Regions from separate parts of the Homo sapiens genome. Here all the other regions are linked to region 5. Evidence: promoter capture Hi-C in 16 types of primary human blood cells and fetal thymus (Javierre and others, 2016). All regions are on one chromosome and are shown on one strand. Each heading gives the region's core, a stretch centred on a gene start or on the middle of the fragment in contact. The rest is flanking DNA. Distances are from core to core; before and after follow the strand shown. Region 1 overlaps TCF4 (transcription factor 4). Region 2 overlaps TCF4 (transcription factor 4). Region 3 overlaps LOC105372126 (a long non-coding RNA gene). Region 4 overlaps TCF4 (transcription factor 4). Region 5 holds the start of MBD2 (methyl-CpG binding domain protein 2).

The links. Contacts are between HindIII fragments. The CHiCAGO score rates a contact against its expected background, and 5 or more counts as called.
Region 1: a contact is called between a fragment that was not itself captured here and the fragment with the promoter of MBD2 in region 5, in 1 of 17 cell types (neutrophils). The highest score is 9.1, in neutrophils.
Region 2: a fragment that was not itself captured here is called in contact with the fragment with the promoter of MBD2 in region 5 in 1 of 17 cell types (monocytes); the score reaches 5.9 in monocytes.
Region 3: a contact is called between a fragment that was not itself captured here and the fragment with the promoter of MBD2 in region 5, in 1 of 17 cell types (neutrophils). The highest score is 9.8, in neutrophils.
Region 4: a contact is called between a fragment that was not itself captured here and the fragment with the promoter of MBD2 in region 5, in 1 of 17 cell types (M1 macrophages). The highest score is 5.2, in M1 macrophages.

The regions. Positions count from the first base shown.
Region 1 is chr18:55,574,825-55,577,524 of GRCh38, forward strand. The region is part of intron 3 of TCF4 (transcription factor 4); the gene reads right to left. Among named protein-coding and RNA genes, the nearest start is that of TCF4, 12 kb to the right of the region's middle. The HindIII fragment of the contact is 1,366 bases long and covers 608-1,973 here.
Region 2 is chr18:55,336,682-55,339,381 of GRCh38, forward strand. All of the region lies in intron 8 of TCF4 (transcription factor 4), which reads right to left. Among named protein-coding and RNA genes, the nearest start is that of TCF4-AS1, 110 kb to the right of the region's middle. The HindIII fragment of the contact is 1,711 bases long and covers 559-2,269 here.
Region 3 is chr18:55,596,348-55,599,121 of GRCh38, forward strand. It overlaps LOC105372126 (a long non-coding RNA gene), which reads left to right. Exons shown (of 3, transcript XR_935479.3): 2 at 733-816. It also overlaps a transcript of TCF4 not described here. Among named protein-coding and RNA genes, the nearest start is that of TCF4, 9.5 kb to the left of the region's middle. The HindIII fragment of the contact is 2,893 bases long and covers 1-2,774 here.
Region 4 is chr18:55,263,081-55,265,780 of GRCh38, forward strand. The region is part of intron 11 of TCF4 (transcription factor 4); the gene reads right to left. Among named protein-coding and RNA genes, the nearest start is that of LINC01929, 140 kb to the left of the region's middle. RefSeq lists an enhancer at 1,060-1,339. The HindIII fragment of the contact is 4,499 bases long and covers 1-2,700 here.
Region 5 is chr18:54,223,402-54,226,101 of GRCh38, forward strand. It overlaps MBD2 (methyl-CpG binding domain protein 2), which reads right to left and starts at 1,268. Exons shown (of 7, transcript NM_003927.5): 1 at 617-1,268. The coding sequence starts at 1,158. RefSeq lists a silencer at 969-1,358 and enhancers at 2,109-2,651, 2,652-2,700. The HindIII fragment of the contact is 9,949 bases long and covers 1-1,634 here.

The DNA of each region.
Region 1 (2,700 bases), core at 41-2,540, 1.4 Mb after region 5:
AATGAGTGGACGAATGAATGTGCACATAAGTAAATTAAAGGTAATAATTCCTAATAACTCTATCGTTACTCCAGTGAAACACACTCACACTGAAAAAATAATAAGAACATGGCATGCATTCATCCACTTCCACTTTTCTGAAGCTTTCAACCTTCTTTAAACAATCAAGCCTTAAACAATTATGGACTATCTCTCATCTTATCCCAATTCTACCAAAATTACTAAGGATTAAAGTGTAGAATTCCCTTACAAGTGGGACACTACAAATATACACCCCATATAAAAGAGAAATTGTTCAAAATGAGCCAGAAAAAGAATAATAAGATGTTAATAAAATCAGGGGAAAATTAGATGTCAGAAGAAAATTAATCTTGCAGTTAGAAGTAACTAGATTGAAGAATCACAGTGGCCATAAGAGAACAGAAAAGCATTCAATGGTTTGGGGCACTAGTGGACAATAATGTCCAAGAGGGCACATAACAAAGAACAATTATTCAAACAAGCATTAAAACTGACATCGTTTAATATTTCTTTTCAAACTTACAAATTGGGTTATGTATGAAATTGGATATTCAACCTGGAAATATTATTACCACCTGCTGACCAAAGCTTTGAGTTTCAGGTTGTAGGGTTGCAAAATATTTCCAATATAAATCCTTTACTTTTTGAAAAGTGAAGAAAAAGGTTGAGGAATTCATAGGTTCTTAACTGAAATCTTTTACATGAGTCTAGAATATCCTCTTTGTCATAAATTTTTTTTTTTACTCTATACCAAGCACAGTCATTCATTAATAAATTCTTCCTAAGCCAATATCAACCATCATTTGAATTTTTGGCTTCACTATGGAAATTGGACACACATGCTAAGTTAAGATACTTGCAGGTCACAGAGAGAAAGACACTTTAATCTGAACAATATTTGGGGGAAGGGATGGTATACACATACACACACACGTGTATTTTTCTATTTGTGATGTACTTCTGGTCAGTTTCATTAAAAGGTATATCTGGCCACTTCACAATGTTTTTACAAATATTACATTAGTTTTTGCTAAGATCACGGTATCTCCGGAAAAGTTTTAAACGCATTTCTCAATATATAATATGGCAAAGATAACTATCACATTTCCATTCCAGCTTTTGACCAAACAATGTGACACTGGTCATGGTGATGCCAGTGATGATAATAAAAATTATAATGATGAATTTTTGCAATCTTAAAATGTTTTAAATACAGCAGTATTCCTTTTTAAAAAATGTGAAAACCCCTCTTGAATTGTACTGGTGAGTTTCGATTTTGTTTAGTTTTGAGGTGCAGCCTTTAAGATTCTACCACTTCCTCAATATGAAACAGCTACTTACCAGCAAACATTGCAAAAGAACCTAGATTTCCAGAATTTGGCTACATGAACAATTTTCTCCAAAGCAGCTTCATTTGGCTCAAGAAAGTTTCCACTGCTGAGTGATATTATAGGAAGAATTTTGGGAAGTAGGGACACAAAATCTTCAATTTCCATCCCGACACTACCATTAAAAACATATACTTTTGGATGGAACTGGATTATAATCGGTAACACCCCCGAGTGAAACGCAAACTCAGTCAAGAAAATAAACGGCAACCAAGACAGGGGTTTTTGCCTGGAAATCATCCCATGTGTCTAGACCAGAGTTGACTCCACTTTAGAGCCAAGAAACTTCTCTTTCTGGGAGCTCTCTTTAATCTACCCTTTCCAGTTTCTTTCATCTGTGCTTGGTTCACAGTGATCCTGATATGCACGCTCAGTCTCACTACCTACTTGTCAAAATTCTACCATTCCTTCAAGGATTAGAATTGAGTTTTCCATGAACCCTTCATTATTAATTTCCCCATGAAAGAAATAAGTTTTCATTTCTCTAAACTCCCACATTATTGTGTCTTCCCAATGCTAGATGTTAATCACATTTTTACTTTTCTATTTTCTCCTGTTAGAAGAAGCTTGTCCAACCTACAGCCTAACACAAACTCGTGAACTTTCTTAAAACATGAGGTTTTTTTGCAAAAGTTTTTCAGCTCATCAACTATCGTTAGTGTATTTTATGTGTGGCCCAAGATGATTCTTCTTCTTCCAGTGTAGCCCAGGGAAGCCAAAATATTGGACACCCCTGTGTTAGAATATATGCCCTCTGAGAGAAGGTTCTCTCTTCCATAAAGCCCTCTATGTCCTCTAATTGCTAACATGGAGATATGAGAATAGCAGGTACTAAATATATATATATATTATATATACATTTATATATTTATATATGTATATATACATTTATATATTTATATATACATTTATATATTTATATATGTATATATACATTTATATATTTATAAATGTATATATACATTTATATATTTATATAAATGTATATATACGTTTATATATTTATATATGTATATACATATTTATACATATATGTGTATATATACATATATATATATGATGATCCATCAATCAGAATTAGACTAGATAGATGAAAAGCTGACTAGCTAGATGCAAACAACATCCCATCTCCATTCCCAACATATTAAAACCCAAGGGGACAAACTGAAGCTATGCTACCAGTCTCCAGATATAAATATAAATAAAGATACTTTTCTAACCATAATCATTATCAATTTTTACTCATCTTAAGTGAATATAAAAGCAATTACTGACAAGGTATGCCAATTTG
Region 2 (2,700 bases), core at 164-2,663, 1.1 Mb after region 5:
TGCAAAGAAAAAAATTTTAGTCAAAGGGACATGTACCTATCTTACATGTTTATTAGTAACTGTATATAACTAGAAAATTCTGCTATTAAGAATCTTGCATTATTGGTGTAAATACTTCCAAGGGTACATCAAATTGTAATCTTTCATACGACATCCATCAAACCAGGCTGGAGATTTTGACAAACATTAAACACAGTAAGGAGGCAATTATGTATGCATGATTTAATCTGCAACTAATTAATATGCAAATTTATTCATATGTTAGTTACTAAATTAAAAATGCAAAGAAGCCCTTATGGTGATTCTCGAAATTTTGCACAAACAGAACATTTAAAATGTAAGAAAAATGAAGTTTTTTAGAAAACTATAACACACTTTTAGTGTCCCCAGAACCTGTTGCATTAAGAAGACTCAAAAATATGTGTTTAAATACTAGATAATAATTTAAAAGGTGTGCTAATTTTACGTGAGAATGTGGGAACAGAAAGGTTAATCAGAATTCTCTCGAACTCTTAAGAGATACACTCTAATTACCAGACAAATGGTATTCTATTTCTAAGCTTCCTTCCCTGCTTTTGGGTTGTCAGAAGTTGGTCATCTTACTGATATCTTATATAAATGGTTAGGAGTTTTGAGGGGAATAAATAGTATTTGAAAGCAACCAGATATAATGAAAATTTAGGGTAACTCTGAGACCATTTGGTGTTCACTAAACATACAATTCGCTCAAGATGGCAACTCGCTCTTTTTGCCTTTGGGGAACAGCTCTTTGCAAACAGAGAAATGGGAGGAAAATCTTGAGAGAGGCTAGAAATTCTACCAAACTCTCTTCCAAATGAATCTTCAAAGAAAATAATGTGGCTAACCAAAAAGCAACAACCTCCCAAAAAAGCAGAAGGTAATTTTATCTGAATTCAATCTGGCTATTTTAGTCCTACATTTTCCAGACAGTCCAAAATTGATTTGAATCCTGTATGTGAGATGAGGGGTGCGGAGTGGTGATAATTTAAAAATATCTTTGGGTGTCTGTATACAAGGGAGTATCCCTTCAAGTGCACTATATATTATTCTTTGGTATTATTGCCTTATGCCAGAACCTGATTCCCCTAAGACTGCCTAGTGATCAGCAGTGAGATTTTGTATGGATCACCTCTCATCTGTTTACCTTTTTCATCCGACGTCCGATGGCCATGTACATACACACAAAGCTCCTGGAGCTGGCTCTTGGAACAGCTGTACTGGCCTCAAGAAATCAACACAAGTCAACTGTATGAGGAAGCACAATAACAGCATCTACGGCTCTTCCTAGGGCACTGAACTCTCACCCATGTTAAAAAAAAAAATCACCATCAGTCTCGCTGCTGCCAAGTGACACACAAAAAGGAAGTTAACCATTGGCTGTGACTTGCATTCACAGTCTGACTCTGATTTCCCTGCTTCCCTTAGCCCATTCTGATGCCAAGCGGACTACAGCTTGCCCATTTCATTTCGACCACGGCAGCCAAAAAAAGCACTGCCCCACCGTGCGACGACAAGCAGTCTGTTTTGATATTAGTACCTCAGTATGTGATAGAAGAGAGTCAGATGTCCTCAAACTATGTGCCCTCCCCCGAGGGACTCTCTCCTGGCCCTCCTTGGCCAGAGAGATGGCAAGCGTGCCACAAATCCTTAGCTTTGAAAGCACAGGGGACGGAGAGGCACTATCCGCAGGCTCAGACAGAAATGGCCATGAGTGCCTCTTCTTCCGGGGAGAGGATTCAGGCCCTCCAATTCCACACTCTAGTCTAACTGGAAATATTAACTCAGATTCTATTCACTCCCTGCCAGCATACAAAACACAAACTGAATTACATAAGAAAAAGAGTCATTTTCTTATATAATTAAATTGTAGTAAATGCTAGTAAGTAAACATCAGGTTTCCTTCTTTTTCTTTCATGAAAGACAGAGGAATATATGGGGTTCCCGAAAATTGATTTTTTCATTGATTCTTAGGGAGGAAGATGAGAGTGAAGTATTCTCCCCCCCACAACAAATTCTGATTTATTTGCTAAATGTACGGAATCTGACTGTAACCTGGTTTAACCTCTGAATGTGCCTTGTAATGTTCTAGTTCTCTCCAGCACTAATAGATCATGCTTTTTATAATTCCAACGAGGCATCGTCAGGTGAGGACTGCAATTGCTGGGCATTTCAAAAGTCTGAGAGTACCCTGGGCATCTTTAATTTTTACAGGTGACTCAATTTTTGTTGTGACCAGAACTGAACATAAAGCTTTTAAAAGCTTAAATGTACACATTTATGCATTCATTACACAGTGTTAAATCTAATTTGTTCTTTTTACTGTCACAGGAAGCACATGTTTAAAGCAATCTGTTTCCTCATGTGAATGCTTTCCTGTCTGTTTAAAAAAAATTGCGACACACTTTACCCTGAGTAACCAAGAGGTGATCATAAATATCCCTAAATAGCATTAAACAGATATGAAAGACATTAACACTTTCAGAATGCCAAAGTAGTATTAAAAAAAAATTCTAACAGATGCTCCTAGGTCAAAAAGTGAAATGTGTGTTTCCTGAAAAAACACTCTCATCAGAATCATAAATGAACTGTGAGTGGAGAAGTGAGGTGTTGCTGAACAAACCAGGATCCTTTTGGTGAGGAACACGGCAATCCACTGCCAACGTGTACTTGCCATAAAAA
Region 3 (2,774 bases), core at 160-2,659, 1.4 Mb after region 5:
TATGCAGCTGTGTAACCTTGGATCTGTACCTCTAAGCCTCTCTTTTCTCATCTATTAAAAGGGTATAATGCTCTGTCATAAAATTATTATATCAAATTAAATATAAAATACTGGCAAAAGCACTTAGCTCATTCAACAGTTGTAACCTAGTAATTAGGATACATATGCTTTAATGCCACATTTTTCATATGTCGACTAAAGTGTTAAAACTCAGGAAGTTTGGATCCATTAGCTTTTTTTCACAATGTGTGGAACCTTTAGAATCGTGCATGTGACAACAGTGATCAGATGTGCCTGAGAAGAACACGTTTCTTTAATGGTCATGAAATTGATTTAGATCAACTTTTTGTTTTTGTTTGTTTGAAGTGAAATGGCATAACGGAAAATACTAACTTGCATCATAACAAGAGTATTGCTGATTTACAAAAGTCTTGTTTCAGCTGTATAATATACAGTATAGTACATGCATACTAGGTTATCATAAAAAAAAAAGTTTATAGCCACTGCTCAAGTAGATGGGTGATATGGTTTGTCTCTGTGTCCCCACCCAAATCTCATGTCAAATTGTAATCCTCAGTGTTGGAGGAGGGGCCTGATGGGAGGTGATTGAATCATGGGGGCGGACTCCCCTTGCTGTTCTCATAATAGTGAGTGACTTCTCATGAGATCTGGCTGTTTAAACGTATGTAACCCTTCCCCTTCGCTCTCTCTCTCCTGCTGTGCCATGTGAAGATGTGCCTGCTTCCCCTTTGTCTGCTGTGACTATAGGTTTCCTGAGGCCTCCCCAGCCATGCATCCTGTACAGCCTGTGGAACTGTGAGTCAATTAAACTTCTTTTCTTCATAAATTACCCAGTCTTAGGTAGTTTCTTATAGCAATGTGAGAACAGTCTAATGCAATGGCCCTCATTGCTTTGCTAGCAAGGGTATTCATGAAGTCTATTATGGGATTATAATGGAGAGGAGAAAAGAAAGCTAATCATCTTTGCATTCTATTTCTTCTCAAACTGCATGATATTTCAAACCCGAGAGCTGCTTTCCCCCTTCCCTCTCCCCCAAAGAAAAGGAGATGGTTAAAAAGGCTGAGGTGGGCGGATCACCTGAGGTCAGAAGTTCAAGACCAGCCTGGCCAACATGGTGAAAGCCTGTCTTTACTAAAAAAATACACAAATTAGCTGGGTGTGGTGGTGTGTGCCTGTATCCCCAGCTACTCAGGAGGCCAAGGCACGAGAATCACTTGAACCTGGGAAGCGGAGGTTGCAGTGAGCCAAGATTGCAGCACTGCACTCCAGCCTGGGTGACAAAGCAAGACTCTGTCTCAAAAAAAAAAAGGTAAAAGTTTAAAAAGAGTAAATAATATAGAAGGAATGAAAGAAATTTTGGAAAACAGATAATCTTTTGCCTATTCCAAAGTGCAGTAAAATAATTGCACTTAATATATCTAATCTGGATTTTAAAATCCTCCAAAAGCTGCCCTCCAACCCCCTCCCCACCTAACTTTTCCAACTTTATTTCCATATCCTCTCCTAAAGGAAGTCTTTGCTCTAGTCAGTTAAGCATAGGACACATGACATTGAGGACACAAGACATTGAGCAGTTTGTCTATGAAAAGCACTATGCAAGGGGCAATGAAGAATTCATTCAAGATGAAAAACTGGGGCCCTTAACTTCCCAGCCTTTACATGCTAATGGGTAGGCTAGACAAGAATAAATCACCCAAACCCCTGACAAACTATATAGAGAGTTATCAAGTGGTAAAATCATGCCGTAAAACTATAATGCAAGGAGTCATTGCTATCAGCTGGAGAGATCTTAGAAGGCTTCTTAGAAGAGATGAGACTAGAGTTGAATCTGGAAAGAAAAGTGGTATTCCCATGAAGCAGATAGAGAGAAAAGAATGTCCTGGGCTGAAGCATTAACTCTGGCAAAGATGAGAAGGCTAGAGAGTAAGGATCTTGTTAGGGTTTGTGAGAAGAACCAAAAGACTAAACTGTTAAAACCCAGCAAATTTGGATCCATTGGCCTTTTTTCTATTTTGTATTTTTTATTTTTTTATTATACTTTAAGTTCTGGGATACATGCACAGAACGCGCAGGTTTGTTACATAGGTATACATGTGCCATTGGCCTTTTTTCACAATGCATGGAACCATTAGGATGATCACATGGTGGCAGTGATAAGATGTGCCTGAGAAGAACATTCTGGAGGCAACATGGAGGATGAATTAAGGTAAAAAGAAACTGAAGGCAGAGACCAGTTAGAAAGCTACTGCAGTTCACTTAACTACTGCTTATGAGATTCTGAAATAGGGCTGTGGCTATGGCCATGAAAACGAGCATTCAAGAAATGCTGTGTATAGATTAGCAGAAAAGCCATCAGGGTTGCGAAGCAATAGAAAAATCAATTCAAACTGGCTTAAATGATAAAGGGCTTGCAAATCCAAAAAGGTTTAGAGCCATCAAATACAGCTCCAGCTTCATTTCTCTACTTTTCTCTCAACTCAGCCCAATTTTATGTCAGGCTAACTCCCTCATGATACCAAGATGGCTACCAGTAAAAATGGAAGCAATCACTCTTTTGTTTGCCTCTAGACGGAGATAGCTGTTGGTGCCCCCTGAACCTTGAAACTAAAGCCTCAGCTGAGGTGAGACTGGACCATTTTAGGAATATACTTGCCTTTGACTCAAATTATGTCATGACTGGTTTACATTCATCCCTAAGTAATTATGTTGCTGAGACTCAAATCTATCAAAGCCTACCCTTGGAGCTGAGTGA
Region 4 (2,700 bases), core at 113-2,612, 1.0 Mb after region 5:
GGACTGAGTCACGGTGCCCAGCCGATAATGTTTTGATATATACTTTATTTGGTTTACAAAACCCACACCCATATTTATTTGTTAATTGCTAAAATACTGAAAGAAATCTGGCACATGATAAGAAGAACACAATTATCTCGTGACAAAATAAACTTCCATATCACAAAGTTATGATATTAAAATACATGAGTCATTAGTACTCATGATAGGTATTGTATAAGCAAGTTCTTTGAAATGAGGGTCTGACATCATACAATTGGACCACTGGGAGCAGCTCAGATATCAAGAGTATTAAAAATATTTAATATAAGATAAAATACAACAAATTATATCTAGTGTGAAAATGAGAAGAATTTCTGCATTAAGGAGTCCTTTAAAAACTAAAAACATGGATTGCAGGCATGCACCACTATGCCTGGCTAAGGCAGGAGAATCGCTTGAACCTGGGAGGCGGAGGTTGCAGTGAGCCGAGATTGAGATTGCGCCATTGCACTCTAGCCTGGGCAACAGGATCAAAACTCTGCCTCAAACAACAAGAACAACAAACAAACCTAAAAACCATTCTAAAGAGAAAATAATAATGATGTGAAATATAGATGATACTAACCTTTTTTCAGTATGTATTACCATGGTATTTGGGGGTACTTATCTTTTTTTTTTTCCTAGAAGCGATATTTCTTTTCATTATTATATACCTAAAAATTAGATCTATCAGTCAAAATAATCTGTGATATCTGCTTGATTTGAATATAGATTTTCACAAAAAGTTCAGAGCTACATTGGAAAAATCACATTATCTAACAAAGAACCTAAGCCAAAAAAGAACAAGATATTGCTTCACTACAGATAATATCTGCTACAGTAGTGGCTTTCAAAAGATTAATTCTTCCTTTAAACAACTTTAAAATGAAGATTACAAATAATATATATATTTTTATGAAACTAAACAAAGTATTGAAAACCAATACAAATATTTTAGGAGCATTTAAAAACTAAATATATACGCCCCAAAAATCACACGTTAGAAGAGGCAAGATATTATGACCAATCTGATTTCTTTAGAACTACACCTTTCTAACTAAACATTCTATCAGTGCCTGTTTTATGCAGGGAGATATTATGACTCAGGAAATAGAATTAAAAATAGAATCAACTTCTTACCTCATCGCGTCATGAAAATATTTCAGAAAACTACAAAGGCTACCCATGGAAACCACTGATAAGAACAGACTATTTTTTAACATGAAGCGATTTTACCTTGCAACAGCTGGAGTGCCAAACCCAAGGGCTTAAATTTCAAAGCAGTTTACTGGGGCCAGTTTGCCCTTTCACTTGGAATGCCTTTTGTTCTGGTCCAGGAAACACTGGAGAAGCTACATTTTCTAGATTGCCTGAACATGTTAAGCTACATGAGTCTTTCTCTTACAGATTTCTCTTTTTATTTGTGTGACAGATATAACAAAGGGTATAACTGGAAAAGAAATATATTTTAATTCTCAAGTGGCAGAATTTTTTTTTTTTTTTTGCATTGAGAAGTGGGCCATGTTTAGCAAGATACATTAAAGCTGAAAATGTGGGTTTGATGTAACAGGACTTGATTACTCTTTGAGGCCCAAGATTTTTGTCAATTCATATTAGAGATGATCAAAATGTCCATGTAACAGAAAGATGAAAACTAATGCATTTGCTTGGTAAAGACTTTATCGATTTCTAATTTTGGCTCTAATCAATTTATCTTGCCCAAGAGAAATATAATCAGTCCCTAAGTAGAGCTGTAACATACAAATATGAATGGAAGATGAGCAGTTATTAAGAGGAACTGTAATTTTTGTAGGAGGCTTCGACACTGCCTGCCACCCAAGTATTGTTCAGATGGCTTGAACACAGGTGGTGTTGCTGGCTAGAAGATGAAGCAGAAAGAAAGGTTTTGTATCTTGGGTTACATGCTAGACCACCCTCTGTCTCAGCCTCAGCTTTGGGGAAATGTTCATTCCCATTAGAACACACCCTCAACAAAACACTGGGATGAGTGGTGCCTTGGGATCAACTACTAAAAATCAGAATTTGGAAAATGTGTTGCCCCTTTAATGCACACCCATCATCTAAGGCTGGGAACATCATGAAGGCATCAAAAGAATAAGCAGCACAATTCACACTGTGTTTGCCTGAGAGAAGATGACTGCTTTCAAAGTAGGTTTTTCTAAACTGTGTCCGAGTGACCCTCGTGTTATTAAACCATTAGAAACAGCATAACAATGCCATGTGCTTATCTATAAAGATGACAAAAAGAAGGAACATTTCCAGCACTCCTACTACAACCATTTTAAAATACAAACGCAAGTATATAGACTACAATGCACTATTTTTTAACAGGAGGGATTCCTAGGAATTCAGGGGGAAGTTGGGCTTCCTGATCGTGCACAGGAAATGGAGGAGATTTAAATCAAACTAGTTTATTGTTCTCTGCTGGTGGTCTTGGTAACTAAGATGCCTTCACATTGCTGGATACAATTCTTATTACTCTTATGCTCTGTGCTTGTTCATCGCCTGACTACTTCAAGGCTCAATATTCTTGTAAAATATAAAGTGAACATTATGTGACTACTCTAATAATAAAATTACTGTGAAACCAAGTCCTCAAAGAGAAAAGGACATAATGTTTCTACTAGACAAGCCACATACTAACATGTCATTCGAAGT
Region 5 (2,700 bases), core at 18-2,517:
TGTGAGAACCGAAAATGTCTCCAGACATTGACAAATGTTCCCTGGGGAGCAAATTTTGGTCTAGGAGTCTAAAAACTTAGTACAGTGTGTCAGTTTCAAAAGAGTATATTCTGCAATACCAAGAAGTTCCAAAAAAACTTCAGGCATTCCAAATAGCTGCTTTATACAAAACTTTCTTGGATGAAGTAAATGAAACCTTGTTACTGTAGATAGCTCATTCTTCCACATGTGCATGCTTAACACTTGTGATGATGAATCTGGGACAGGCTGGGACAGGAGCCAACAGTGACTGGGTTTTATAGTTTCGATGAATTACACCTCCTTTTAACCCTTCAGTGGACTAACCATCCCTGCCAGGCTAACCCTTTCTTCGCAAACCATCTTCCCCGACGCCTTCCACATAAGATGCCCTCCTGCGGGCCCTCACCTTTTGACACTGCCTCCCACCGCACTGGGGTCAACTCTCACCCAAGGGTTCCGCCACCTTCCACCACCAAACCAGCCTGTCCCTGCCACATGCCCCCCGGGCCCCAGCGCTCATCCTCTGCCCAGGCCCGCTCTTGACCCCTGACCCCGGCCTGACCCCGCCACCCCCTCCCCGCCCCCAGGGAGGTACCTGAAGTAGTAGACATCGCTCTTGCCAGCACTTAGCCCAGATTTTCGGATCACTTCCTCCTTCTTCCATCCGGGGGGGAGGGCCGGGCAATCCATCCTCTTCCCGCTCTCCGTGGCCCGGGGTCCCCTGGGCCCCGGCCCCGCGCTCCCCGACGGGAAAGGGACCGGCTCCCGCCGGGGGGCGCCGCCGCCACCGCTGCCGCCGCCGCCGCAGCCGCCGCCGTCGCCGCCAAGGCCGCTGCCGCCACTCGGGGGACGGCCGCGGCCCCGGCCCCGGCCCCGTCCCCGTCCCCGGCCACGGCCCCGGCCCCGGCCACGGCCACAGACGCCGCCGCCCCGGCCCGCCTGCTTCCACCGCCCCCGGCCACGGCCGCCGCCCCGAGCGCCTTCCCTGCGCACGCCGCTCACCGGGGACGGGGCGAGCGCGCTGCCCTGGCCCCCCTGCTCTATGGCGGAGTCGCCGCCAGCGCCGCTGCCGCCCGCCGCACTCTCCCCCTCCTCCTGCTCCGGGCAGCAGCGGCCTCCCCCCGGGTGCGCGCGCATCCAGCCCCCTCCCCAGCCGGCGCTGCGCTTCTTCCGTAACCGAGCCCTTGGAATCCCGGAGACCCGCCCCGCCCGCAGCGCGGCGCGCGGGGGACGCGCGCAAGCATCATAGAGCGGGCGCGCACAGAGCGGCCCTCCTGCCCGGGGCGTGGCCCCGGCCACCGCCTCTTAGGTCCTCCAAGCGCTATGGGCGGCCATCTTGTCTCCGCCTTCTCGGGGCCACGCCCCCTCCCGCGCTTTTCCGGCCCCCACTGGGCGCGCGGAGCTGGGAAGGTTGGTCGGGCTAGCCACCAGCTGGGGGTGTCATAGTGACTGTGGTTAGTTTGTTTCAAACGGGGTAACCTCCACCATTATGTGATTTTACCTATGTTTGCTTCCCAATTAATGAATAACAAGCAAAATAGATCTTATATTACATACCAACTCGGCTATTCATTTAAGGGGGTGATAGCCCCTTTTCCCGCCCCTCTGCACAAAGCTTGCAGGGGAGCTTATAATGAAGGAATGAAGCAAAGTGTCCCATTCGCTGAATACCAGTTCCCTCCTGAGCCTGGCTTCAGAGCCATTGACAGATTCTCCTGGAACCTTGTAAGGATGTAGGAAAGGAAATGATAACTTGGAATATGCCCATGAGTCAGATGGGGCTTACCTCTAGATTCTCCTTAGAATGACCAGAATCCCTAAATCCATCTAGAAATTTCCAGATGTCTTTGTCTAATACAAAAATCAGTGGCCTTTTATTTGGTAAATATTCCATTATGTTGAAAGTCCAGCCTAACTTACTGTCACAAGCCTTTAGGAAACTGTGTGGTATTCTTTTCGGTCTGCCAACTTGAATTTTAGAAATGCATATTTTCTATAAGTTGTCGAACACTTATAGAAGTGTGCTATTGATATTCAAGATAATATATTATGAAATATTTGGAAGATTGAAAAATGTAAAGCACATGTTATCAGCCTGATGATAAGCTATCTTGGGTTTCTATACTCATATGCCCTAAAAACTGAGGACCAAGTTTAACGTATAGAAAAAGTTGATTAATATAAAGCAACAAAAATCTAAAATTAATTTGGTTTATCTTTGCAGTATATGCAAACATTAACTCATACACACAAACTTGTCTGTCTCTAAACCTGACCTTAGTCTTCTTTTAATGTCCTTTAGTTGAAAGACACTAATTTGTGGTTTCCTACAAGAAATTTAGAAATGTGAATGTAAAAAATCATCAAGAAATGAGTTCTGAGGAGATCAGTACTGGAGACATTCATTTAGAAGTCATCTGTGGGCCGGGCGCGGTGGCTCACGCCTGTAATCCCAACACTTTGGGAGGCAGAGGCGGGCAGATCACCTGAGGTCAGGAGTTCAAGACCAGCCTGGCTAACACGATGAAACTCCGTCTCTACTAAAAATGCAGAAAATTGGCTGGGCGTGGTGGCGGGCGCCCGTAGTCCCAGCTGCTCCGGAGGCTGAGGCAGGAGAATGGCGTGAACCCGGGAGGCGGAGCTTGCAGTGAACTGGATCACGCCACTGCACTCCAGCCT